Regions from separate parts of the Homo sapiens genome. Here all the other regions are linked to region 4. Evidence: promoter capture Hi-C in human tissues and cell types (Jung and others, 2019). All regions are on one chromosome and are shown on one strand. Each heading gives the region's core, a stretch centred on a gene start or on the middle of the fragment in contact. The rest is flanking DNA. Distances are from core to core; before and after follow the strand shown.

What was found. The method cuts DNA at HindIII sites, captures the fragments that hold promoters and counts their contacts. A contact is called where the count stands out against the background at its distance.
Region 1: a contact is called between a fragment that was not itself captured here and the fragment with the promoter of LYZL1 in region 4, in 2 of the 25 tissues and cell types used here (bladder and mesenchymal stem cells).
Region 2: a contact is called between a fragment that was not itself captured here and the fragment with the promoter of LYZL1 in region 4, in 2 of the 25 tissues and cell types used here (bladder and mesenchymal stem cells).
Region 3: a fragment that was not itself captured here is called in contact with the fragment with the promoter of LYZL1 in region 4 in 3 of the 25 tissues and cell types used here (heart right ventricle, mesendoderm cells and thymus).
Region 5: a fragment that was not itself captured here is called in contact with the fragment with the promoter of LYZL1 in region 4 in 4 of the 25 tissues and cell types used here (heart left ventricle, mesenchymal stem cells, mesendoderm cells and 1 more).

The regions. Positions count from the first base shown.
Region 1 is chr10:29,038,695-29,044,194 of GRCh38, reverse strand. No RefSeq gene overlaps it. Among named protein-coding and RNA genes, the nearest start is that of C10orf126, 200 kb to the right of the region's middle. The HindIII fragment of the contact is 6,348 bases long and covers 1-5,417 here.
Region 2 is chr10:29,148,935-29,154,600 of GRCh38, reverse strand. No RefSeq gene overlaps it. Among named protein-coding and RNA genes, the nearest start is that of LYZL1, 140 kb to the left of the region's middle. The HindIII fragment of the contact is 6,554 bases long and covers 1-5,666 here.
Region 3 is chr10:29,062,386-29,067,646 of GRCh38, reverse strand. The region is part of intron 2 of LOC107984174 (a long non-coding RNA gene); the gene reads right to left. Among named protein-coding and RNA genes, the nearest start is that of C10orf126, 220 kb to the right of the region's middle. The HindIII fragment of the contact is 6,112 bases long and covers 1-5,057 here.
Region 4 is chr10:29,285,548-29,291,507 of GRCh38, reverse strand. It overlaps LYZL1 (lysozyme like 1), which reads right to left and starts at 2,438. Exons shown (of 5, transcript NM_032517.6): 1 at 2,278-2,438. RefSeq lists an enhancer at 5,604-5,693 and a silencer at 5,804-5,873. The HindIII fragment of the contact is 13,518 bases long and covers 22-5,960 here.
Region 5 is chr10:29,124,362-29,130,332 of GRCh38, reverse strand. No RefSeq gene overlaps it. Among named protein-coding and RNA genes, the nearest start is that of LYZL1, 160 kb to the left of the region's middle. The HindIII fragment of the contact is 6,825 bases long and covers 1-4,778 here.

The DNA of each region.
Region 1 (5,500 bases), core at 994-3,493, 250 kb after region 4:
TAATGTCATACTCCGGTTTTCCTGGTTGTCTAAAAATATCTTTTTACAATTGATTTATTCAAATCATAATCCAAATAAAAATGCACATTGCTCAGCCTGTGCAACATGGTGAAACTCCGTCTGTACTAAAATTACAAAAAAGGGCATAGTGTTGCACACCTGTAGTCCCAGCTACTCAGGAGTGTGAGGTGTCAGGATCACTTGAACTCAGGAAGTCAAGGCTGCAGTGTGCCAAGATCACACCACTGCACCCCAGCCTTGGGAACGGGAAGGAAACCCCTGTCTTAAAAAATATACATATACACATTTCACTTGATCTTATGTCTGGTAAGTCTTTTTAAATCTATAATAGTCTCTCTTTCTTTTATTCCCATGCCATTTCTTTGTAGAAGAAACTGGATCATTTGTGCAATAGAAGTTTCCCTTTTCCTCATGGTATTGTTGCTCATGTTCTTCTACCCTCCATAATGTTGCTAACCTGTAAGTTAGATTCAAAGGCTTGGCTACATTGGGGTCAAAGTTTAGAAAAAAATGTCCCATAGATGGTGCTGGGCACTTCTTAATGCTTCACATCAGAATGCACATAATGGTTGGCTTTCCCAACTGTAGTGATGTTAGGATACATCAGTGGGTTCAGGTGCCAGCAAACCCATTTATTATGAAACTTGTCCCTTGATATTTCACTTAATGGCTTAGCTGTTATTGCTGATTGTTGGTTAGATCTATTATTTCATTACAGTTGCACAATTGTGATTTTTTAAAAATTCTATCAGCCCTTCTTCATTTGTTCACAGTAATTTTTCTCTAAGGAAGAAATGTCTTCTGTCAACTGTGTATTTGTTCTGAAATATAGCCCTTACAGGAAAGGCAAGATAAATATTCAATTTTTTTCTGATACAAATTTTAGAATAATAAATTACTGTCTTAACAACCTCCAAAGGTAATCAATGAGTTTCATTTTTAGAGTATTGTTATAACACATGGGTTCTTATATATTTGATATCTTTCCTTTTTTGCAGTCATTATTCTTCTTGGCTCTCTAATTATGCCGTCTTTGGCCAGTGAGAGCCCCTTCAAGTTGGCTCCTATGCACATTTTCTCCCATATCCTCTTGACACAATTCTAGTAGGTTTTGATAAATAATATAAGATGCACTGAGCACAAGTTGTATATTGCTAACCCCAGACAGAAAATCAACCTTTCCTCCTCCTAGGAAGAAATGGTTATTAGAGTTCATAATCTGGGCTCAAGAGGTGCTCATCATTACTGGGCTGTTCTTTTATTTGCAGTAATAATACTAACAAAATGACTAATCTGCTTTCTCCTGCAATTGATATGTAATAGTTTTACAACAATACTAATTCCTTATTCAGTTTAAGTCTAGTTGTATTGTATTTCTGCTACTTTAAATGTGGTGTATTCTCTATTACTTTTTCTAACTAGTTATGCATGTGTGTGTATACACATGTAACTTTGATTTCTGTAGGTGAATTTTATACCTTACCTATGTACTAAAGTTTTTAGAGTGGATTTTCCATTAATTCTTTTGGGTTTTCCAGATACATAATAATATCATCTACAAATAGGAATAGTTTTACCTCTTCCTCTTCAATTTGTGTCTCTAATTGCCTTCTGTTATCCAATTGCATTAGCTAATAACTTCAGCATAGAGTTAAATAGTAATGGAGAGAGTGGCCACTCTTGTCTTGTTACTGACTTAGTGGAAAAGCCTCTGGTGTTTCCCCACTAAGTAAGATGCAGGCTTTGGACTGACTTTTGTTTGTTTGTTTGTTTGTTTGTTTTGTTTTGTTCTGTTTTGTTTTTGAGATGGAATCTTGCTCTGTTGCCCAGGCTGGAGTGCAGTGGTGCTATCTTGGCTCACTGCAAGAGCTGAGGTATTAATATACATATTTCATCATGCTAAGAAATTTCTCTCAATTCTTATGTTTTAACATGGATGGTCGATAAATCTTGCCAAGCATGTTTTTAAAACATTATTGGAGATAATCATGTTACTTTTCTTCTTAGTTCTGTTCATATGATGAATTTCATTAGTTTACACTAAGATTTTGAGTCCTCTAGAAACAGCCACTTCTGAATATAAATCCCCTTGTCTTCATCTGGCAGAAACAGAAACGAAGAGGAAGGAGACATTTTTTTAGTTAGTCAGTATCAGTAATCACTCCTATTCTTTGGTAAGTTTCTGGCTTATTTCCTAGATTTGTAAGCAAAGAGAGCGTTATCTGGCTAGATGTAGCTCGATTATTATGACTGTGTGTGACATGCCATCTCCCGCACTGCTGCTCCCGCCCCTCCCTTTAGCATGTGCACAATCAGACTGCACATTTGAAAAGCAATGGCTTAAAATCCCTGTGTCTTAGGAGACCCATAACCAGTTAAAATGCCCTTCAGCCAGAGCTACAGTGCATATGTTAAGCCCCGTTTCTTACTGGAATACACAAGCAGATCCAAATTAAATGCAGACGTGTTTACGCTTGGGAACCCAATCCAATTCCAGAAGTGAGAGTGCAGCTTTATCAACCAAGCCACCCACTCTCCCAGGAAGATGGCAGGAATCAAAACCAGACTTTTCTGGTGTTATAATTTGACTTCTGTCAGCAGTGGCAACTATACTTTAAAAAATCAAGCTGCTGCTTATTTTCTTAGTCCCTAATGTCACACTCAAGGAGAACTCTGAGTCCAACAAGGTATCTCAGGTTCTGTTTCAAGTGAGAAAACGAAAATAAAAGGCCAAGTATTTCTGATGTCTGAGGTGATTTTATTTTTCATTGTCAGAAAGGAAAGCTTCTGTGAAACTTCTGGAAGGAGGAAGTAGCATTACCATATGGAGACTCTGTCGTCAATGACTTTGCTTCTCAGAAACCCTGTTAAGGGCAGGTACTATTGGTGTTAAGCCTAGTCTATCTTTAATCCCCAACAAGCCAAGAATGAAGATTAAAAGGTCAAACTTGAGCTATGGGCCTCCCTCACACATACTCTGAAATTAATGAAGATGACTCTGCAAAATGGGCAACGAGCTTTATAAATATCTTCCTCTTCTACATAAACACACACACAAACCCTCTGAGGCATGGAGAAAGGAAGTGACATCAACCCAATGCCAACCCTGAAGTTTTCCCACATCCTTTGTCAAAATGAAGTTCTGCCCTTTAATTGGCACTCTTTGTATTGTATTGGTACTCCATCAGAACCTCCACCGTCTCCATCAGCACCTTGACCATCTCAATCAGCACCTCCACCATCTCCGTCAGTACCTCCACCATCTCCATCACCACCTCCACCATCTCTATCAGTACCTCCACTATCCATATCAGGACCTCCTCCATCTCCATCAGCACCTCTACCATCTCCATCAGCACCTCCACCACCTCCATCAGCATCTCCTCCATCTCCATCAGCACCTTCACCATCTCCATGAGTACCCCCACCATCTCCATCAGAACCTCCACCATCTCCATCAGCACCTCCTCCACCTCCATCAACATCTCCACCATCTCCATCAGTACCTCCTCCATCTCCTTCAGTACCTCCTCCACCTCCATCAACCTCTCCACCATCTCCATCAGCACCTCCTTCATCTCCAACAGCACCTCCTCCACCTCCATCAGTACCTCCACCGTCTCCATCAGCACCTCCACCATCTCCAATAGTACCCCTATCATTTCCATCAGCACCTCCACCATCTCCATCAACACCTCCACTGTCTCCATCAGTGTCATTACCACTACCACCAACACCCTGCTCTTGTGCTTTCTCTTGCACCTTCCTTGAGAGACAGTTGTGGTGACCAGGGCTCTAGGGCTGAGTGGAATAACTGCCCAGGGGTCCAGATTGTCAGAAGGGGTAGAGCAATCACTATTCATTGAACTAAAATGACATTTCGGTCATTTCTAGAGCCACAGAGGTATATTCAGGATAAACCTTTTAAAAAAATTTGGGCTCCAGGCCCTGGGCTCTGGGTGACTTGTCACATTCTTTCACCCATAAATGGACTTTACTTTTACTGTCTATTCATATTATGCTTAACACAAATTCTTCATGTTGCCTTTTGACCCCACTGCCTCTTGTCGTGTGTTCTCTGGTGGAGATGGAGCCCAGCTGGTGCCTGGTATTCTGCACAAAGATCTCTGCATTAAAGATACTTTTCTTTGAATAGTAATGGATTGGCCTTCAAGTACTCTTTTCAAGGCTTCCAGCTTACAGATGCTCTCTAATAACAGTGATGAATGTGGCATCTCTGAAGCATTTTATGCATGTTTTGTTTCCCTGACTTCACACATAGGAATTTCTATCTTTCAAAACCTTTGTTGGGATGGGAGCCAAAGAGATTGGAGGAGAAATGCAAGGAACAAAAACGTGCCTCATTCCTTCCACAGAAGTGGTGAAGCTGACCTGCTTCATGGCAGAGCCCTCTGTGGTGCTGAGGCAATTGAACAAAAAAATCAATCAAACTGAGGCTGTTGCCTGAGAACAGTGTAGACAGTCCAAGTTTCCCAACACCCCACAAGCAAGGAGACGCATCAAGATCCATTGAGACACTTTCCCCTTTAACCATTCTCTTCTCCTTACCTTGCCTCCCTGTCTCCACATCCCCTTTCTCTACTTTGCCACCACTTCCCTCCCTCTCCCCTACCATACCCGTACCCCTGCCAATCTTCTTCTTTAGTTCTAGGAGACCCTGAGCCAGGAGCAGGACTAGGCAAGATTATGCCTATGCACTAGGGAAACAGATTATGGATTAGGCAACAAACTTCAATAGATTCTCCAAGGAATCCCATCTGAGTGATCTTACCTTTGGCAATGTTTTCATGTCAAGCATTAACATAATCCCTCATGTGAAGCTCCTCCACAAACGAAAAGCCCATTTTAAACACAAAACAGATGGGAAGTGTCTCAAAGTCAGATGAACCAGAAACTGAGGTTCACACATGGCTTATAAACTTCATTTCCCAAAGGATCATCCAAGAAGCTGATAAAACTAAGAGTCCCTGTCTGCCTGTGTTCCGCCTTCAGGCCTCGGTCACATTATCTTGCACCCAAAGGCATACGGTGGGTCCAGCATGGGAAAGCACGGCTACCAGAGCACAGAGGGATGAGGTCCCTTTACGGGGAGAGCAGCAGCCCAGGCCTGCAGCCCAAAGGGAAAGTGGCAGAATGAATTTGTAAAATTTCCTGAGGATTTTATTCTGATGGAGGAGGGTTTGAGGTTGTGTCTGTTTAAAGGGTAGATTTGAAGATGGCGGCCCTGTAGGGACTAGGATGAAAGACGGAAACCCACGTCTCTTCATCCAGAGATGCAGCATGATGCTCTGCCTTTCGCTAGCTGTGTAGCCCTCTCCAAGTTACTTAAGTGCTATGTGCTTGAGTTTTCTCATCTACAAAATGGGAACAAGCATACTACTTATTAATGCTGTGAAGATAAATATTAAGAGAATGAATATATACAAAATTCTTAGGACCATGCCTGGTAAATACTAAA
Region 2 (5,666 bases), core at 1,548-4,047, 140 kb after region 4:
GAGTGATTCCCGAGCAAGATACTTAACCACTCCAAGTCTCCGTTTTATCCCCTTTAAAGTGGGCATAATAATTATACCTATCTCATGAGGCTGTTGTGAAGATTAAAGAACATAGAGTGAGTGCTGAGTAAATGTTCATTATTCTTAGTATTGTACCTGATTTCCTATAAAATGATTTTGTATAACACTACTTCTAATATTATTCTCCATTTTAAAATTCTATGATCCTCAGGTCTGTGGAGATCAGGCTTACTCCTCTAGAGTTCAAAGCATCCAGCTGGTCCTGGGAGCTGTGCTGAGGATAGCCTGTTTCCGTGTCTTCTTACTGGGGTGACTACAGTGAAGTCGTTATGACCTGCCTTCAGACACTCAGAACAGGCTGGCCCAAGGCACCTAGAGGAAGTGGAGATCAAAGTTGACAACTGTGCAACAAGTTTCTGGCTAGTTGGAGACACACAAGCACAGAGGTCTTGAGCGATGCCTTAGAGTATTTGCAATTAAATTGGGCGAGAGAGTGCTGGTGTGCTGCTACTCACAGCGTGCTGGACTGTGGACCAGAGCATCAGTATCATCTGGGATTTGATTGCAAATTTAGTATCTCAGGCCTTGCCCCAGATCTACTGTATCAGAATGTGCATCTTAAAAGGACTTGTGCCTTTTAAAAGGACAGAACGTTGTGTCCTCCCAAAATTTCTGCATTGAAACCCTACCACCTAATGTGACGGTATTAGGAGGTGAGGACCTTTGGAGGTAATTAGGATTCAATGAGGTTGTAAGGATGAGCCCTTGTGAATGGAATTAGTGCTTTTATAAAGGTCATGAGAGAGCTTGACTCCCTTCTCTGTTCCCCACCATGTGAGGGTACGAGAAGTCAGCAGTCTGCAACCCAGAAGGAGATCCTCACCAGAGCTCAGCCATGATGGCATCCTGATTCAGACTCCAGCCTCCAGAACTATGAGAAAGACATTTCTGGTGTTTACAAGGCACCCAGTTGATGGTATTTTGTTATAACAGCCCAAACAAACTAAGACAGGACTCCGCAGTGGTTTGCTGATATACTATTTTATTCCACTGAAAGTAATGGCAAAAACCACAATTACTTTTGCACCAACCTAATAATGTTTGAGGAAGCGCTTATTCAGTGGATTCTAGCAGGAAGTGTCTGTTTCATGTTTCCGCCCCCTAAAATCAAGATGCTTCAAGAATAAGGCGCAACAGTGGTTATGAGACATGAGCTGAGAATTGCCTTCAAAGTAAGAGGATCTGGTGGCCTTCGTTTGGAGACCTTTCTGCTCAGTGTCATCTGGAGTATACTTTGGGGCAGAAAAGCTCTTAAGGCACAACCATTTTTACTGCCATTGTGGGATGTGATGGGTGGCATTGGAAGATGAGTGAAAATTTCACCAGCATCCTGCTTCATGGCTGGATGAGAGGTATTACAGGAAGGAGTGGATGCAGGAAACTGTGTCAATCTTCTTGAGGCAGAGACACTTATATTGAAAGAGGAAAAAAAAAAGTCAAGTAGGAAACATATCCTAAGTAATAAGCACTCAGCCAAGAAACTTAAACAGAGAAAACTATGTTGGGTTTTGTTTTCCCAAAAAACAAAATTTGAAAGTTATCTTCTAAATGTTTTTCCTATGCAGTGCAATAAACCATCCCTACTAGTGGATGTTGCAGAATGCAACCAGTATCAGATTGTCTGTGATTCTAAAAAGGGATGGAGATGCCTGGCAGAGAAAACCCAAATGCAATTCTGCTCAATGAGCCCACAACTGAGTCTCTGCTTTCTTCCTATAAAGGAGCTTTCTGGAGGACACCAGCAGTCAGATTCTCGTCATCAGCAGTTAACAACCTTTAGTTTCAGGATGCTTTGATGGAATCCATCCAGGGTTTGTTAAGAGGAAACATGAGTTTTGCCTTCTCTGTCTTGCCACGTGTCTCGCCAGTGCTCTTTTACTCATGACAGCTTCACCTATCTTATGGGTAAGGAAACTAAGTTTAGGAAACTCGCCCCATGTGACAACTCCTGTGGCTTCCAGAACTTGGACTTGAATGAGGGTCTCTCTTTCTGCAAAGCCTGAAGTCTTGCTTCTCTGCTGTATTGCCTCTCACGTCGTTTGTTCATTTGGGGTTAGACGACGTGGCCATCCTCAAAAAGCTTAAAATTCTTGTTCCAATCGTTGTTCCAATTTCAATAGAGTAGACATTTGTTTCACCTCCCCCCTTTCAGCATAATCCTGTAACCCACATGTAAAGACATGAAATAACCAAACCACAGGGCCCTGAAAAAGTTTTATTGAGCTTCAGCTCAGAGACAAGGAGTTCCTTTGAGGTAGAGGTGCTTATATTAAGACAGAAAAACAGTCCCATAGGAAATATTTTCTGAGCAAAGGGAAAGCACAGAGTCAAAAAACTTAAAACCATTGAGATCTGAAAAGATCGTCCCATCCAAAGAGCCCAGGACAAATTCACTTTCTTTCACGGGTGTCCGTAATAAGGAGCACACCCTCCGGAAGTTTCTATGTTGCATCAATTTGTACAACATCAGTCAGGAGCATAGAGTCTCAAGATAAATGAACTTTTCAAGGCCTTGCTCCTTAAAGTATAGTTTCCCCACGTAGCATCACCCAGGGACTTGTAAGAAATTCTGATTCTCAGCCCCACCCCAGACCCACTGAATCTGAACCTGAATTCTAACAAGGCCCTTAGTCACCATGAGCTATGATCGTGCTACTGTATTCCAGCCTGGGCAACAGAGCCAGATCCTGTCTCAAATAGTAATCACATACAAAAACTCTCGACAAAACACAGCAATAAGATAACAAGGTCCACAGGTTATTTGTATACACCTTCAAGTTTGAGAAATTCTGTGTTAAGGCACTGTTATCTGTGGGTACCTAATGCTGGTTGATCCCAGTGATACTTGGAATCATTGTCCCGGAATTTGATAAGCAGTATCCTTCAGGCTTTAATTCCTGAGTGGGGGCTATTCCTACTTGAGTGAGCCGTTTAGTGGGTGAGTGGCTAAAAAAATAATCTGGCTACTGCACTTAGTTTATGTCATATATGATGCCAATTTTGGAAGATCTAAAATATAATAAATGACCTCACAAACTGAAAATTACATTGAAAATGGAATCTGTGATAGGCATTGGGGATTCACTGGATCTTGAAGGGCATTGAAGTAATCTCAGGAACATCAGCTCTCTTTGTACAGAAGATGTGAGAAGCACCAACCAGTAGAACATCCCAGCTGCTGGAATGCCCAGGCAGAGAGAGCTTAGTGCATTGCTGTGAAAGAGCCTGTGGGTGGGTGGTGGGTGCCTGGGGTGGAAGCCAGTATTCACAGCCTGCCAGTAGGAAAGGATGAGAGTATTCTTCACACTGAAAGGGCTGGTTTCTCTGGTCAGATTGATTGGAATTGCTGGTCACCAGGAATTTAACCTAATTAAGGCTAAGCCTCTGAATGGGAATTCCTTTACAATCAAATTCTGCCTGCAGGCTGGGGGTGGCGGTAGGATGGGGAAGAAGGGGGAGATCCTCCCCTCCTAAGCTCTGTTAGCCTTCATTCTGCTGAGACCCCCATCCATCCTATAGTGCCTTTTGCTATTTTCTCCCATTTCTGTGGACTTCAAGATTTGGAGATGCCTGGGCTTGGCACATCTGACTTAGGATCCTGACACCAATTCCCTTCTGCTCCATCACCCAGGCTTGCAAAGAATGAATATAACGGTGTAAATTCTGTGTTCAAAATACCTGGATCAGTTCTTGCCTCCAGTGCCTGTTAGCTGAGAAAGCTACTCACCCTTTCTGTGCCGGAATTCTCCCAGCTGGGAATAGAGCTGACTGTAAATAGCCTTGAGAAGTGTTTCTACAAGGTTGTTCTGAGGATTAAATGAGTTGATGTTTGCTAATGTGTTATTATGTGCAATGCATGGGCTAGTACCTGGCACGTGGTAAGGGTGGCTATCATTTTTATACCAAATCTCGAACTTTAACTCAGGCGCTTTGTTACCCATAGGGAAAATAGAGTTAGATTCCTCCTAGCCGCTAGAAAATTGAAGCTATTCTCCTTTCTGCCCTGGGTCTTGGGATTCTAGGAAGTCCAAGAAGAGAATGATCCATTTTTGGTGAGTACAGGCCTGGAGTTTGGGGGGTACCTGAGAAGCTCTGAGGGTTTAACACAAGTTGACTCTTCCTGCTCCCATGAGTGAACTCTAGGGGCTACGCAGTTAGGCTATTTATAAACAAACACAACATTTTCTGGGGAAAGGTTACAGGTTTATTTTAGGTGGGCTCCTGCTTGGCTGGGAAGGCCTGTACTTGTTATAGCTGCTTGGCTTAGCTCTCTGCAGCCTGGCAATGCGGAGTTCAGCTTGAGGTCAAGCTCTGTTGAAGTTGGCAACGTGACCTAACTCAGGCGGCTGGAGCTTGCGATAACCCCAGGGCTTCCCTTGGAATTTGCTGCTGTCCTGCTCTCCAAACTGGCATTGCAACCTCAGAAGTTTATCCTGGGATTGGACTGGAACAGCAACATGAATGCCACAAAGTTAAAACAAGCAAGATCTTTTAGGAAGAGAGAGCAACTTTAGCTAAGGGATAAATCAGCTACCTTAATAGTGGAAGGTCAGGTACATGCAGTGACATTTTCCAAGCCTATACAGATGGGGATGTCTTTGGTATTTTCTGCTTCTTGCTCATTGGACCCTGCTGCTTTGGGTACCATCATGAGCCAAGACACATTAACCTGAGCAGACTTAGCAGACTGATTTTTTTTTTAATCTCTTTTGGATTTGTTGTTTTGTGATTCTCCTGTTGAGATTTATGTTGCAAACTCAGAAAAACAAAGAAACCCAAAATTTTCCACCTTAGTCAGTCCTTATAATAATGTCACATAATAATAGACAATATTTATAAGAATCTGGCAGAAGTGTCATCTCTCAGAACCCAAACGCAATCAAAATCTCACATCTACTTTCATAAGGGACAAAGTAATAGTAAAGCCCTTTGCAATAGGAACAAAAATTCAGCAGTTACTATTCTTTGATTCTTAGAAAAGAAAAGAATGAGCTGGTTGGGCAGGCACAGTGGCTCACGCCTGTAATCCCAGCATTTTGGGAGACTGAGGAGGGCAGATCACCTGATGTCGGGAGTTAGAGACCAGCCTGGGCAACATGGTGAAACCCCATCTCTACTAAAAATACAAAAGCTAGCCTGGCGTGGTGGTGCACGCCTGTAGTCCCAGCTACTTGGGAGGCTGAGGCATGAGAATCATTTGAACCCAGAAGACAGAGGCTGCAGTGAGCTGAGATCGCACCACTGCACTCCAGCCTGGGTGACAGAGCAAGGCCCTGTGTCAAAAAAACAAGAAAAAAAGAGCTGGTTTATGCTTCTGGCCCATAAAAACTAGCAGATAAGAAGTCTTGATTGAGACATTAATGCTGAATGATTATGCATGCATAGAAAATTCCTCAGTTAGGTCAACATAATGATTTCATCGAAGGCTTGAAATAGATGTCAAAACCTGGGTATTCGAGAGCTTCCAGAGAAAGCTGGGAAATCCAAGGAAAGGCCTTGCAGAAGAGTAAGGGAGGAGATATGGGAATATACAGGGCAAAATTTATTTAACTTACCGAAAGGTATGTGTATATATTCATGCCTTT
Region 3 (5,261 bases), core at 752-3,251, 220 kb after region 4:
GACAATGTGATTTTATATAAAATAAATTATATAACTAGATTCTCTTATAAAAATAAATTATTTAACTAGATTTCTAATATTGTGCAGCTAATGATTCCATTTTTTCAAGTATTACAAATAACATTGCACAGAACATCCCGGCACAGAAAAGTTTTTGCATGCTTCCCTAATTATTTCCTTAGGATAAAATCCTGGAAGTGTTCTTACTTCAAAGACCAGAAACATGTTGAAGGCTTTGATAATGCCCCAGGCTAAGTTTGTACACATGTAGGCTCCCAACAGCCGCCCCCGACATGCTCATTTCATCACACTCTTGCCAGCATGAGTAATTATAATCCTTTTCAGCCTTTGACATTCTGATATGTAAAAAATGCTGTCACTCTTTCATTTGCATTCCATTGACTGAAAATGAGCTTGAAAGTATTAACTATACACTTATTGAATTTTTCTGCTTTTTGGCAGAGATTTTCCCCACTTGTTCCTTGAGTTGTCGATCTTATCCTTGCTAATTTGTGTTAACTTTTCATATAATAAGAATACCTTTTGCTTGGAAATGTTATCGCCCCATTTGCCATTTGTCTTTAAAGTCCCTTTAACTCCCCAAGAATCTCTGCTTTACATATCTGTATTCCTACAAATTTGATTCTCATTTTGTCTGGATGGTAATGGCAGTGTTGAGATTGAAAAGGAACATTTTATCAGTGAAAGGGCAGCATGAGCTTCTGGAATCTGGAGTGGGGACATGGATCAAGGAGAGACATCAAAGGATCATGGGTTCATGGGTTCAAGACAGAAGAGAGATCAGAAGGGTGTGTAACTGAAGAAGATGGACAGGGGAATAGAGAAACAAATAAAGGATGTATTCAAATAGCCATGAATAACCTTGTAAAAGCTTTATATCTACCTGGTAAGAAAATGTTGGCAATGAATTCAAACATAGGATCCCAAGAAAAAAAAACAGGTATAACAGTTTTCTTCTTTCTTTCTTTAGAGACAGGCCATCGCTCTGCCACCTAGGCTGGAGTGCAATGGCACAATCATAGTTCACTGTAACCTCAAACTCCTGGGCTCAAGTAATCCTCCTGCCTCAGCCTCCTGAATAACTAGAACTACAGAAGCATGTCACCACACCTGTTTATATTTTTTCAAAAAAATTTATAGAGATGAAGTCTCGTTATGTTGCCCCAGCTGGTCTTGAATGAACTCCTGGACTCAAGCGATCCTCCTGCTTCAGCCTCCCAAAGCATAGGGATTACAGGTGTGAACCACTGCACCCAGCCAAGGTATAATCGCTTTCTTCACTTTTAAAAAAATTGGATCAATATAGAAGCAGTTTCTTTAAAAGGATCTTTAAAAGGGGGCCTCCTCCCTCTGCACTACTTGGTCAGTTTATAAGTGCATCTGTGTAACCTTGGAACAGAAACAAACAAGAGCAGGCCCTGTATACACCCAATCTGATGTCAACTAGCTTGTTTGCCAACTTGAGGGTCCAGATTCTCAGCTACAAAAATCATTTGCCTCAACCCATTTCTGCACCCCTGGAAGACTTGTACTTTTTTTTTTTCAAACTTACAATTTTGTTTTTAAATAAAGAACAAAAAATTAGTTTAGAAGAACTGAACCATGTATAGAATGAACTATGTACCATTTATTAAGTAACCACAAATGATAGAAAGGCATAGCATGCTTGTTATGAACCTTTGCAAAATACATCAAGAAGGCCTGGACCATGTTCTTTTCCTACATCAACATCCCAATATTTCCTTCATCTATGTAACTGTCTTTATGTCTGTTCCATACTTGTCTATTTCCTCCTTTGATATGAGTTTGTACCTTAATGTGCCTTCCTATAATCACAGAGGATATGTTAGTAGCACAGACTTCTTAATTCCCATAATCAAAACTTTGTCTTAAAATTTAAACATATGTTATTTATCCTAGTTTTCATTGATTTGGCTAATACTCCTGATATTTGCTGCTAAAATACTGAAATTCTGGAGATTCCCTTATTTTATTTTATTTTATTTTATTTTATTTCATTTCATTTCATTTCATTTCATTTCATTTCATTTAGAGACAAGGTCTCACTCTATATCCCAGGCTGGAGTGCAGTGGTGCAGTCATGGCTCACTGCAGCCTCAACCTCCCTGGGCTCAAGTGATCCTCCCACCTCAGCCTCCCAAGTAGCTGGGACTACAGGCATGTGTGACCCCAAGCCCGGCTAATTTCTGCGTTTTTTTATAAAGATGGGGTCTCACCATGTTGCCCAGGCTGGTATCAAACTCCTGGGCTCAAGCGATCGCCCTGCCTTGGCCTCCCAAACTGCTGGGATTACAGGTGTGAGCCACTGTGCCAGGCTAGATTCATTTTCTTCTAAAGCAAATACACTCTTCCTTCTAAAAACTTTAGCTGGGCATGGTGGCACGTGCCTGTAATCCCAGCTACTCAGGAGGCTGAGGCAGGAGAATCGCTTGAACCCGGGAGGCAGAGGTTGCAGTGAGCAGAGATCGCGCCATTGGCACTCCAGCCTGGGCAACAAGAGCAAAACTCCATCTCAAAAATAAATAAATAAGTAAATAAATAAATAATAATAAAATGAAAACTGCAGCCTTCCTTGTACTAAATAAAGGAAAGAGTTTTTAAAATCTTCCTAATTTTTGGAGGGAAGACATCACATTTTAGTCTAACCTTCACCCCATTAATCATGTAAAAGTTATTTAGTTGGTTGTTTTGCAATCCCTACCATGAAAAGTTTTCTCCCCTAAGGCAAATGGGAGCAAAGGCAGTTTGCTTGCTGCTCACTGGGTTTTACTTTTTAACTCTTCAAGTTGCACTCTGTGGTGTCTACGTGTACGATTTTATAGAGCAAAAAATATTGTTTACCTTGGTTTACAGATTTCTAACTTGCCAAGTTGATACATTAGAGCACAAATTAATTTTCTAAAACCAAAATCCTTCAGACAAAAGGACGTTGAGATATGAATAGATGTCTGATTGCTCTAGTTCCTATCCAGACTGAACCTTTCTTATCCTGTTAGGCTGTGCAGTACCAAGGGTTAACGTGACTGTGATGCAATCTCTCAGACATTCTCCACTCTCAGACAAAAGAAGAGAATGAGAGTGCAGGGGCAGAAATGATAAGTATGGAGTCAGACAGTTCAAAGATTTGCAGAGTTTGAACAACAGTGGCGACCCAAGGAGGACAGATAGTGAGTCAGGAAAAGTGTCTGCAGTTACAAAGCACTTCCAGAAGGATGAAGTGTTATATCGCCCAATATTTTGTGGACTTGATCCATTGCTTAATCACACTCTTACAAACTGTTTTAAATTCAGACTACAGGAAAATGTGGGGAAAGCTTATCATAAAATAAATCAAAGGGAAAATTAGATTCACTTCACCAAAACTCAGCTTATAGTTATGAGTCAATGTGGGGGAGACCACACCATGACATGGATTCCAGTTGAAATCAGATCTGAATCCAGAGGTGTTGAGTTACGGAAAATCCAAGGCAGGGCACTTGCACCTTTTTTTTGATGATTCATTTTAATTATTACTGACTTTGCCATTGAGACCTATGCTCTAGGGTCCCTCTCCAATATGCATTGCCCCATTTCTTTCTTGCTAACAGTACCTCTGTTTTGCTCATCCTTATCTAAACAGTCACTTCCTTTCAGGGAGGCTGAGCTCTTTCTCATTCTTCAAGGATGAAGTTGAGTGATGTCAATAATCAAAGTTTTCTAGGTCCCCTTAACATTCTAGTATTTCGGGGGTTTTTTGTTTTTGTTTTTGTTTTTGTTTTTTGGAAGCAGAGTCTCACTCTGTTGCCCAGGCTGGAGTGCAATGGCGCAATCTCGACTCACTGCAACCTCTGCCTCCTGGGTTCTAGCAATTCTCCTGCCACAGCCTCCTGAGTAGCTGGGATTACAGGTGCCACCACATGCCCAGCTAATTTTTGTACTTTTAGTAGAGATGGGGTTTTACCACATTGGCCAGGCTGGTCTCGAACCCCTGACCTCAGGTGATCTGCCCGCCTTGGCCTCCCAAAGTGCTGGGATTAGAGGCGTGAGTCACCACGCCTGACTGTATTTCCAAAGTGTGGGGCCAGGGGATATCTGAAAGGCATGTGAGAACATACTCCAGCAAGGCACTCTTGAGGGGTGCTCATGACCCTAGAACTAAGAAGCTATCTGGCAATCATGAGATGCCACACCTAGAGACCTGGACAACACATTAAAGATGTAGAAAGAGTGACAGCACCCAAGTCCTTGATGACAGTGTTGAGACATCCAGACTTTTGGTTATGTAAAAAGAGAAAAGTCTGTATACTTTAAGATATTTTAATTGGGTTTCAGCTACAAGCATCCTTCTGCTACAGTTAGCGTTCAGTTTAGACACTGGCAGTGGGTAGACCACTCCATTATTTTATTGTCTGTACATTTTGTGGTAGAAAAAATTATTCAAATGTATCCTATAGCATGAGATTTTTCAGTGATCTAATTAACAACAGAAAACCTAGCTTGGCATCTCTATGAGACATTCACTCAATTTCTCTCATCATACTTTCACTCAATTTCAGAAGAGCAGAATTTGTTCTCTTTTTAAAAACAATTTTTTGGGCCAGGTGTGGTGGCTTATGCCTGTAATCCCAGCACTTTGGGAGGCCGAGGCAAGCAGATCTCCTGAGGTCAGGAGTTCAAGACCAGCCTGGCCAACGTGCTGAAACCCGGTCTCTACTAAAAATACAAAAATTAGCTGGGCGTGGTGATGGGCACCTGTAATCCTAGCTACTTGGGAGGCTGAGGCAGGAGAATTGCTTGAACCTGGGAGGCGGAGGTTGCAGTGAACCAGGACCACACCATTGCACTCCAGCCTGGGCAACAAGAGTGAAACTCCATCTCAGAAAAAAAAAAATTTTTTTTTGGTAGGAAGGGCAGCACTTCATTCCATAAAATAGAATAAGTAGAACTTATTCTCTATTGCATATTCAGTCAAAAATTTATTTTTTTTTATTTCAATAGGTTTCTGGGGAATAAGTGGTGTTTGGTTATATGAATAAGTTCTTTGGTGGTAATTTCTGATAATTTGGTGCGCTCATCACCCAAGCAGTGTACATTGTACCTAACGTGTAGTCTTTTATTCCTCACCACCTGCCACCCTTTCCCCCAAATCCCCAAAGCCTCCAAATTAAAATTTTGATTTTATGTTTAACTCTGAAGTTGTTAGCACGCTGTGACCTAACATTGCTAATTGAATTCATTCA
Region 4 (5,960 bases), core at 1,189-3,688:
CAGGGGTGAAACATTCCCTATACTGCTGACCCTTGAACAACATGGGTTTGAACTGCGTGGGTCCATTTATCCGTGAATTTTCTTCTGCCTCTGCCACCCCGAGACAGCAAGACCAACCCCTCCTCTTCCTCCTCCACCTCAGCCTGCTCAGTGTGAAGACAACCAGGATGAAGCCCTTTATGATGATCCACTTCCACTTAACAAATAGTAAATGTATCTTCTCTTCCTTATTCTTTTCTGAATAACATTTCATTTCTCTAGCTTACTTTATTGTAAGAATCCAGTACAGAAGACATAGAACATAAAAAATATGTGTTTATTGGCTATTTATGTTATCAGTAAGGCTTCCAGTCAGCAGTAGGCTATGGAGTCGTTAAGTTTCTGGGGAGTCAAAAGTTACATGCAGATTTTCAACTGAGCAGGCGTCGGTGCCCGTGACCCCTACATTTGTTCAAGGATCAACTGGATGTGTAGAAACAGACAGCCCATTTCAGCCACAGATGAAAGACACGTGGGCCTGTATGGAAAACTTTAAGGGTTATTGTTTGGGGGTTTATCGAAGAGTGAAGATTAAGCACCTACTCTTTCATTTTCTTTTCTTGATTCAGTTCCAAATGTGGGAGCTTTGCTTCCAAAGTATCAGTGCTTTTATTTATTTATTTATTTTTTGAGATGGAATCTCACTCTGTTGTCCAGGCTGGAGTGCAGTGGCGCCATCTGGGCTCACTCCAAACTCTGCCTCCCAGGTTCAAGCGATTCTCCTGCCTCAGCCTCCTGAGTAGCTGGGATTACAGGCGCCCACCACCACACCTGGCTAATTTTTGTGTTTCTAGTATAGATGAGGTTTCACACTGTTGGTCAGGCTCATTTCAAACTCCTGACCTTGTGATCTGCCCACCTCGGCCTCCCAAAGTGCTGGGATAACAGGTGTGAGCCACCATGCCCAGCCCAAAACATGAGTGTTTTATCTTAGATTGCAAATGCATTGCTTTGCTAAGCTTCACCACCAGTGCTCCGGGGGGCCTCCTAAAAGTCTGGCACCTGACTGGGGAGCAAGAGGGATGGAGGACAAAGCCTCATGAAAGGAGGAAAGCACCTGGGGGAGCAGAGGGGCAATAAAGAGACCCCTGCGGAATCATCTGAAATGGGAGTAGGATCAAGAGAGCTGTCTCCTGCTGCCTACTGATTTTCCACAATCTCTTCCCCTCTTGAAATAATGTCTTCCCCAAATACAACAGCCTTGCTGGGATGGGGTGAAGTGAAATTTCTGACAACTACTCGGGATCCTGAACTTGATGTTCTTACATATGTTCATCCCGTGTCATTTTCTGCACTTGCCTAGAAACTTCTCCAGTCATTAGTTTCTCTCCCTGGGGCTGGATTCCTGCATTGAAAGGCTAGGCCCAAAACAGGGATAAGTAGTCATCAGCAAGGCCACCGCACCAAGTAACAAGCAGGGCTTTAAGGTGACTAAGCAATAAGGTAAGGAACTGCATTGCATGAGGGGCATGTACATTACAAACGTGAATAGCAAGCGTGGGCAAACCAGGCCCGCTTTTGTATGTAAAGTTTTATTGAAACATAGCTACACCCATTTGGTAATATATCATTGGTGGCTGATTTCCAACTACAGTGGCAGAGTTCAGTAATTGTGTTTGAGGCCGTATAGACCACAAAGCCTAACATATTATTATCTGGCCCTTTTCAGAGAGAGCATGCCAGTCCGCTGTGTACAGCACTGTGTTAAGCTGTGAGGGACAGACAAACGAGGTTTAAGATGCAGAGCTAAGGCCAGGCATGGTGGGTGATACCTGTAATCCAAGCACTTTGGGAGGCTGAGGTGAGCAGATTGCTTGAAGCCAGGAGTTTGAGACTAGCCTGGGCAGCAAAGGTAGACCCTGCCTCTACAAAATATACAAAAATTAGCCAGGCATGGTGGTGTGTGCCTGTGGTCCCAGCTACTGGGGAGGCTGAGGTGGGAGGATCACTTGAGGCTGGGAGTTTGAGGCCATAGTGAGCCATGATTGTGACACTGCACTCCAGCCTGGGCAGCAGAGTGAGAGACCCTGTCTAAAAAAAAAAAAAAAAAAGAAAAGAAAAAAGAAAAAAAGATACAGAGCTTACAAATAGAGTTGGTTTCCATCCCCTGCCTTAGAATTTTACTGATCTCAAACAAGTCCAAAGAAAACCCGCAGCAATGATAACCCCAAGCATCATGTTCTACATCCTTCAAGAACCTGCCATTGCTGGTTCTCATAAGAGTAATTTAGGTCTTACTGAAAAGGCAGATTCCTGGTGCCTGCCCCAGAGGCTGACTTCTCAGTTGAGTCTGCGGAAGAAACACTGCTCCACTTAGTCGGTGACAGGCAGCTCAGGGGAGCGTCCTGCATCCCCTGAAGCCATGTCTGATTCTAACGAGGCGCGAGTAATCCTTTCCTAGCTCAAGAACATTTCTTTAGAGTGTTAGAGAAAGAAAAATTCTTAATCCTTTGTTTCTCACCACCTAGAGATGCTAGAATTCTACTTCTTGGCACTAAAAGCTGTATCATCCTGCATGCTTGTGTTCTGAGGCAGGTGATAACTGTCTTCTGGGGCTTAATACCTCTTGTTTTTTGTCTTTTCCCCTCAACAACCCTCCTCATTACACAACTTGGCCAGGGCCTCCTGTCCAAGTGAGAGCTCTTCTCTGAGGCGTCTGCAAACTTTATCACAAATTCCATTAATAAAGAAAGTTAAGCATGTATCCTCTTTAGATGTACATTGAGTTATAAATCATACTTCTGTACCTCAGTACTAATATGCTACATAAATTATCAACATACATAAAACTAAAATTTGAAAATTAATGACATAGAGGTGAAATTAACATTAAAAATTTATTAACAGCACATTTGCTATAGTCAAATTATTATTAATAAAATATTTTTGTAATAACATGATTTTATTATTTTTGAAAAATTTGGCTTAACACTTTGTGAATCAATAACTAAAGGGCTGTTTTCAAGGTCTATTTATTTCAATGTTCAGATTTAGTGACACATTTGAAATGAATTCTCATTAGAATATGTAGATCTAAGTAGAAGTTTATTGTTGGCTGCACCTAACTAATCGTTATATTTTCTTAAATTCCATCTGCCAATAATGCAAAGGTTTTGTTGAAATCTATTTTGAAGTTCATATAGTATTGCATTATACAGATACAACATAGCATACTTAGCCAATTTCATATTGATGCACACTTATTTTATTCTTCTATTGTAAACATATTACAACCAGTAATTTTGTACATATGTCATTTGTAACTTTACAAGAATATCTTGCTGGATCAAAGGGTATAATTTTGTAATTTTGCTAGATATTTGCCAAATTGCCTTTCACATGGGCTTGTATCAGGAAGATAGCACACTGTGTTATCAAATGTTTCAATATTTCTCAATATTAGAGATGAAACATAATTTTTCAGCAGAGTTTCAATTTCAACTTTCGTTATTTCAAGCTGCTTGAGGGTCTTTTTTATCTTTAGAAGCCATTAGTGGACTTCTTGTGAACAGTCTATAATATGAGAAAATGTATAGGTTTTTCCCTCAAACATCTTTTTCAAAATGCTTTGAAATAGGGATCTTACCAGTGAGAAAATAGAGACGGATTGTCTTTTTCTTTTTCAAAAATGCTTGCTTAGCAAGTTTTCAGATATGACGTAAATATACAAAAGCCATTTACAATCTTATATACTAGGAATAGAAAATAAGAGTTTGAAATAAAAAAAAATCCATTTACAATAGTACACAAATGCAAATGAAGTACTTAAATTTAAACCTAACAAAATATGTGCAGGATATATATACTGACAACTATAAGACAGACGGAAAATTAAAGAAGACCTGAGTAAATGAAAAAGACACACCATATTCATGAATTTGAAGAGTCAATATTATTAAGATTTAATACATAGATTTAGTGGAATCCCATTTAAACTCCCAGAAAAATTGTTTAGAAAATATCAATAAGAGGGTCCTAAAACTTATATGAAAAGGCAAAGGGACTAGAGTAGGCAAAACTATTCAGAAGAATAATAAAATTGAAGGACTCATATTGCTTGATTTTAGAACTTAATATAAAGCTGTAGTAATCAAGACAGGATGATATTTGTGGAAACAGACACATAGGACAGTGTAACAAAATAGAGAGCCTAGAAATAGTGTTACACATATGTAGTCAAGTAGCTTTTTATAAAGATGCAAATTAAATTCAATGGAAAGATGATGTTCCATTTAACACATGGTACTAAAATAAGACTGTCTATGTGCAAAACAACGAAAACAACAAAAATAAAACAAGGCATAAGGCATATTGAAGAATACATACCTTATATCTCATACAAAAATTAATTCAAGATGGATCAAAAGCCTAAATGTAAAAAGTGTGAAACGATGAAATTCTTTAAGTTAAATATAAAAAATCTGCAGGACCTTGGGTTTGGCAATGAAATTTTAGATATAACATCAAAAGCACAATCCATGAAAGGAAGAAAAAAAAACTGATTAGTTGGATTTGATCAAAATTTAAAACTTTTGCTCTTTGAAAGACACTGTTAAGGGAATGAAAAGATTAGCTACAGATTGGAAGAAATATTTACAAATCAATGTCTGATGAGATGAAAGCCTTGTATTCAGAATATATAAAGGACTCTTAGAATTCAACTATAAGCAAGCATATAACCCAATTAAAAAAAGGGCAAATGATTTAAGCAGACATTTCAAAGAAGATATACAAATGACAAGCATATGAAAAGATGATCAATATCATTGTCACCAGGAAAGAGTAAATAAAACCACAATTAGATATCACTTCTCACTAATTAGAATTGCTAAAATCAATTAGATGAAACCAAATGATGAAGACACAGAACTGTAAGAACTCCAATTTATCACTGGTGGAAATACAAATGGTACAGTCACTTTGGAAAACAGTTAGTCAGTTTCTCATAAAATTAAACATGGACTTATCACATAAACCGACAATTATACTCCTATGTATTTATTCAAGTGAATAAAAAACTTACATTCACACAAAAACAAGCTAACCCATGTTTATAGCAGCTTTATTCATAATCAATGAAAACTGGAAGCAACAAAGATGACCTTCAGCAGGCAAATATATTCAAAAACTATGATCTATCCATACAATGGAATACTACTCAGCAATGAAAGGAATGAGCTATTTGATTCCCGCAACAATGAGGATGAATCTTAAATGCATTTTGCTAAATAAAAGAAGGCAGACCCAAAAGATTACTATTATATATACGTATTATATATAATTCCATATATACGACATTATGGAAAAGGCAAAATTTATAGGGATGGAAAACAGTTCAGTGATTGTCAAGGGTTAGAGGAGAAATTGACTACAAAGGAACCACACACATTCTATTTTATTTTAGGTCATTGGAACTGTTCTCTATGATACTGGGGTAGTAGAAACATGGCTTCATGAATTTGTCAAAATCTGTAGACCCGTACACCACAAAGGGGGAACTTCATTGTATGCAAACTTTAAAAAAATCATCCAGGATGTTGGGGAATACCAGGATAGAATTTAGTCTGTGAGAAAAAGACCTAACTGTATTACAAACGTATAACATAACCTCACTGAAGGCGTGGGAAAAGAGATGCGGATCCAGGTAACTTTAGAAAACAGTGTTTTGACTGAATATCTAAAGTCTAAAGACAAAACAATCTGTACATAAACACTGTACTTCAGTTGGTGAATTCCCTTCTCCCTGGGGTAAGAGTTAGCAATTCTGAAACTACATGTAAACTAGCATTAAGCAAATGAAGAAAAACATTGCAGATGATGGGAGCCAGATTTCACACTGTCAGAGAGAGAAGTTAAAAACAAGCAAAAGAGAAAGACTAGAATTGAACTCTGTGACACTGGATTAGAGTTGGAGACATTAA
Region 5 (5,971 bases), core at 117-2,616, 160 kb after region 4:
TAATGAACTTGTTACACAACAAAGAAAACAAATACACCTGGAATTAGTACGCTGCACTGACTTGCAGTATCACTAGGAGGAGCCCTTGCTTTTTGCTAACAGTTATAATGCCAATGGTTACAAGAATAACTTTGTGTTTTAAAAAATTAGGTAAAAATTGGCCTGATGCGGTGGCTCACGCCTGAAATCGTAGCACTCTGGGAGGCCGAGGCAGGTGGATCGCCTGAGCTCAGGAGTTCGAGACCAGCCTGGGCAACACGATGAAACTAAAAAAAAAAAAAAAAAAAAAAAATACAAAAAATTAGCCTCGCCCTACTCGGGAGGCTGAGACAGGAGAATTGCTATAACCCAGGAGGCAGAGGTTGCAGTGAGCTGAGATCATGCCACTGCACTCCAGCCTGGGCAACAGAGTGAGACTCCGTCTCTTAAAAAAAAATGTAAAAATTAATTTCTAACACTTATCAAAATAATAAATTTATATTCTTGCTTGTTTCAGAAAGATTTTAGGATCGTACAGGAATATGTAAATTACAAAAGAATATATAAAGGCAAAATAAAAACATAAGAAGAATGTAAATGAAAGCTCTGAATGAAGTTAATTCTCCAAAAGATAGTACGCTCTTCTGTTTCAGAAATTTCTGAGATTATGATTTTGCTACTCATCCAATGAGCTTATTGTCAGATTTGTCCAGAAATGAGGTGCACAACTATTAATATTATTCTCCACTGCGCTGTTAGAACACTTACTCTGTTAAATACATAGTAATGATCCTAAGTTTCATAGTGTCCACAAAACTCTATGGCATAGCTTAAATTAAAAAAACAGACAAACTATAACAACAAAACCCAATATGCCCCTAATTTCCTTCCTTCTGTTACAAACATATTAAGAATTCCCGGCCAGGAGTGTAGCTATCTGTAAGTATTTTGGGAGGCCAAAGTGGGAAGATTTTTTGAAGCTAAGAGTTTGAGAACAGCTTGGTCAATGTAGCCAGACTCTGTCTCTACAAAAAAAAAAAAACTTTTTAAATTTAACCGGGTATGGTGGTGCATACCTCTAGTCCCAGCTACTCAGGAGGCTAGGGCACGAGGATCACTTGAGCCCAGGAGTTCGAGGTTACAGTGAGCTATGATTCCACTACTGCACTCCAGCCTGGGCAACAGAGCAAAGCTGTCTCTTAAAAATAAATAAATAGAAATAAAATATAGAATTCCTTAGCTCACACTTGGTTAGGGTTGGGCTAAAGAAGAAATGAACTCACTTTTTCACCTCTTATTTCCAGAAATCATGTATTAGGCAAGAGTATAAGGCCATATTTTTCATTTTTCAAAAATCACAAGAATAACACTCTAATCCAGAATAACAAGAAAGGAAGAACAAAACTGAAATCACAGGGCTTAAGAAGACTTTGCGAACCCAAATTCCTAGGTTTTTCACAGTTTTTCTTTTACGTAAGCAAATACTTCCCGACCAACTTTTTATTCTGACTCCAGATTTTTTGATTCAGGATTATAGGCAGACTTTCTGACTTCTGTGACTTTTTTCTCTTAAAAACTCTGGTCATTCCCAATGACTAGGAGGTTTTTTTGTGTGTGTTAAAACAATTGTCTCTTTTCACAAACTGGCATTTCTGCCATTTTGCATAACATTACAGAGCTCTTTCTCTATGGATATGAAAAGATAAGGCTAGAGTTGTATTCTGTCACTTCTCTTTTTTCCCTCTGTGAACTTTGAAAATTTCAGACAGGTCTCCAGTTAAGTTAGACAGTTTATTTTGGGCCGGGCGCAGTGGCTCATGCCTGTAATCCCAGCACTTTGGGAGGCAGAGGTGGATGGATCACCTGAGGTCAGGAGTTCAAGACCAGCCTGACCAACATGGTGAAATCTCGTTTCTACTAAAAATACAAAAATTATCTAGGAGTGGTGACACGCACCTGTAATCCCAGCTACTTGGGAGGCTGAGGCGGGTGAATTGCTTGAACCTGGGAGGCGGAGGTTGCAGTGAGCTGAAATCATGCCACTGCACTCCACCCTGGGCGACAGAGCAAGACTCTGTCTCAAAAAAAAAAAAAAAAGAAAAAGAAAGAAAGTTTATTTTGCCAAGACTGAGGACCTGCGCCGGTGACACAGCCTCAGGAAGTCCTGATGACATGTGCCCAAGGTGGTCAGAGCACAGTTTAGTTTTACACATTTTAGGGAGATATGAGACATTAATCAATGTATGTAAGAAGTACATTGGTTCTGTCCACAAAGGCAGGGGCAACTCGAAGCAAGGAGGGGGCTTTTGAGTCACAGGTAGGTGAGAGACAAATGGTTGCATTCTTTTGAGTTTCTGATAAGCCTTTCCAAAGGAGGCGATCAGAATATGCATCTATCTCAGTGAGCAGAGGGATGACTTGCCTAGAATGGGAGGCAGGTTTGCCCTGAGCAGTTCCCAGCTTGAATTTTCCTTTTAGCTTAGTGATTTGGGGAGCCCAAGAGATTTTCCTTTCACACCTCCCTATCTGGTCTCTTCCCTGTTTTCACTTGTTGACATACAGCATATGGGATTTGAGATCAATAGCACATTGTGCTGAGACACAAGCTCCAGAAGCGGTAAAGAGGGCACAAGGTGGCATCTCTTGGCCAGAGATCACAAGACTGCAATCTTCACCCATCTCTTCAGTGAGAGTCGAGACCAGCGATTCTCAATGCATTTGGGAAGAGTTAGCTTTCTTTTATTCCTTTGTTATGAATAAATAATATGTTTATGAAATATATGTTGTTTAGAAAAGGATCTACGTAATTAAATTTACTGCTGCTATTCTCTTAACAGGATAACAAGCTGGTGAAACAAAAAATACCATTATGCAACTCCAGATCACATGAGAGACACAGAATATTTTTCTACAGTGAAGTATCTAAAAATGTTACCTCTCTGTTAGAATTAAAACTTTTGTGTCTCTCTGAGTCCATCTGAAAGGCAGACAAAATCAATTAGCAACCCTTTCACCCTCTGGCAAAAGAGGAATTTCTGCAAGAATGCCTTCCAGAAGCTATCGGTTGTTTGGTTATTGGCTGTTTGGCTGTGTGTAGGCTTAGACACAACTTTTGGGCTTCCCTGGCGGACAGGAACTGGCTCCATCCTGTCTCTCCTCTACCTTTGTCGGCTCAGTTCTCCACCCCTGGGGCCAGGACCACTGCTCGTCCCTATTTGGGGTCAGCTGTCAGAAGACAGATCTGTTTAATATTTAGCTTTGAAGGAAATTGGCTGAATCAAAGATGAAAGGGGTCAGCTCCAAGTGATGGGGAAAAACAAAAACAAGTCTCAAGTGTTTCAACATTTCCATAGAAAAGTAAAACGATAAAGTCAATGTAGGTGAAAGAGATAGAGAAAAAATGGAAAGAGAGAGAGAGCTGGAGAAGAGAAAGAGAGAGGGAGAGACAGAGATTGAGAGAGGGAGACAGAGAGACAGGGAGACACAGAGAAAAACAGATCTCCAAATTCCCAAATATCATGTCGAGCTGCAAGACTGGCCGTTATTTCCAATGAATAAACAATTCATTGTAATTAAACAGATCTCATTTTATTATTCTCATGTGTGCTTGGATGCAGGCATAAAGTTCAGAAACACAAGTGATTCTCAGCTCTTCAATGACAGTCCTAGAACAGAGCTTCTCAACTTTAACACACATACTAACCACCAGGGAACCTTGTCAAAATGCAGATTCTGAATCAGTGGGTCTGGAGTGGAACCTGCAATTCTGCATTTCCACCAGGACCCCAGCTACTCCTCCTGCAGCTCTTCTGCCAGGGGACCATCTAGATACATTGTTTTCCTAAACAGCAAATGCATTTAGAGACTGCTTGTATGCGAGGACTTGTTTTAAAGTCATCCTCAGAATAAGGTGAAGAAGTAGACCATAAAGCTACATACATGACAATACTATGACGGGAAGGAAAGTGGGGTTTTTTTGTTATTTTATTTTATTATTTTCTTTTTGAGACGGAGTCTCATTCTGTCGCCAGGCTGGAGTGCAGTGGCACGATCTCGGCTCACTGCAACCTCTGCCTCCTGGGTTCAAGCAATTCTCCTGCCTCAGCCTCCCTAGTAGCTGGGATTACAGGCACCACCACCATGCCCAGCTAATTTTTGTATTTTTAGTAGAGACGAGGTTTCCCCATGTTGGCCAGGCTGGTCTCGAACTCCTGACCTCGGGTGATCTGCCTGCCTTGGCCTCCCAAAGTGCTGGGATTACAGGCATAAGCTACCATGCCCAGCCCTATTTTTTTTTTTTAAACGAAGGTGCCAGGCACAATGGCTCACACCTGTAATTCTAGCACTTTAGGAGGGTGAGGCTGGAGAATTGCTTGAGCTCAGGAATTGAAGACCAGTCTGGGAAGCACAGAGAGACCTCATTTCTACTAAAAATTTAAAAAATTAGCTGGGGGTCGTGGCACGCGCCTATAGCACCAGCTACTTGGGAGGATCGCTTGAGCTTGAGAGATTGAGGTTGCAGTGAGCTATGATTGTCCCATTGCACTCCAGCCTGGGCAACAGAGGGAGACCCCTGTCTTAAAAAAAAAAGAAAGAAAGAAGAAAGAAAGAAAGAAAGAAAGAAAGAAAGAAAGAAAGAAAGAAAGAAAGAAAGAAAGAAAGAAAAGAAAAAATAAATATTTTTCAAAAAAGTTTTGGGGCAATATTTTATGCAGCAATAGATAGTGAATACAATCGCTTGAGGTATTTTAAGATATGTGGAAAATAGGCCGGGCGTGGTGGCTCATTCCTGTAATCCCAGCACTTTGGGAGGCTGAGACAGGTGGATCACAAGGTCAGGAGATCGAGACCATCCTGGCTAACACGGTGAAACTCCGTCTCTACTAAAAATACAAAAAATTAGCCGGGCGTGGTGGCAGGCGACTGTAGTCCAAGCTACTCGGGAGGCTGAGCCAGGAGAATGGCGTGAACCCGGGAGGTGGAGCTTGCAGTGAGCCAAGATCCCGCCACTGCACTCCAGCCTGGGCGACAGAGAAGACTCGTCTAAAAAAAAAAAAAAAAAAAAGATCTGTGGAAAATAGAAAGGACTTGTCTTACTAGACAATCTGCCCCGTGCCAGTAACGACTGCTGGATGATGGAGGTTTACGTGCCTGTGGCCCTGGGAGGGTCACCTGCCCTCTTAGATGCCTTTTATCCTGCCCAATGCCTCCTTGAGCAAAGGCCCATCTCCTGGCTCCTGATCCCCATGATATTTTAGTGCCCGGGGAGATTTTTATCAGATTTGAGCTGCAGTGTCATATTTTCTGACTCTCGGTTCTGTTATTTCCAACAGGTCATCTGCCTGGTAAACAACCATGTGCCGGAATAACTGGAAGAACCAACATTTGTATCATATCTGACAGCTTTATTTATTTTCCAAATGTTTATTTGGAAACTTCTAGGTCTTTGGAGAGAACTGAGGTAACTGGCTAAGGTCACTCATTAAGGGAAAGGGAGATTTAAAACAGAACCAGGTATTCAGCCTCTGAGTCCTAACTCAGCAATGATAGGAATAAATGATTCACGGGCTAAGAATAAATAATTCATTGTAATTAAACAGATATTATTGACATTAGTCTGCCTGAAATTATAGTGAGAATTAAAATTAGTACAACTCATTTTATGTTTTTAAAAAGTTATCATTTCAGCGGTTACCAATTTAAATTGCTCCACCTCAGATATATGAAATTAACACAATTTTACTACAGGTCTAAAGGAGTTCTGGGTTGCCTGTTTATGTCATTCTGATCTTCTTTTCATTCACCGTTAATTCTTTTCTTGAAATTACATTTATTATAAGTCAGAAGTCAGGCTTTTTTTTTTTTTTTTTTTTTTTTTTGAGAAAGGTTCTCATTCGGTCTCCCAGGCTGGAGTGCAGTGGTGCAATCATAGCTTACTGCAGCCTCAAACTCCTGGGCTCAAGCAGTCCTCTTACCTCAACCTCTTTTATAG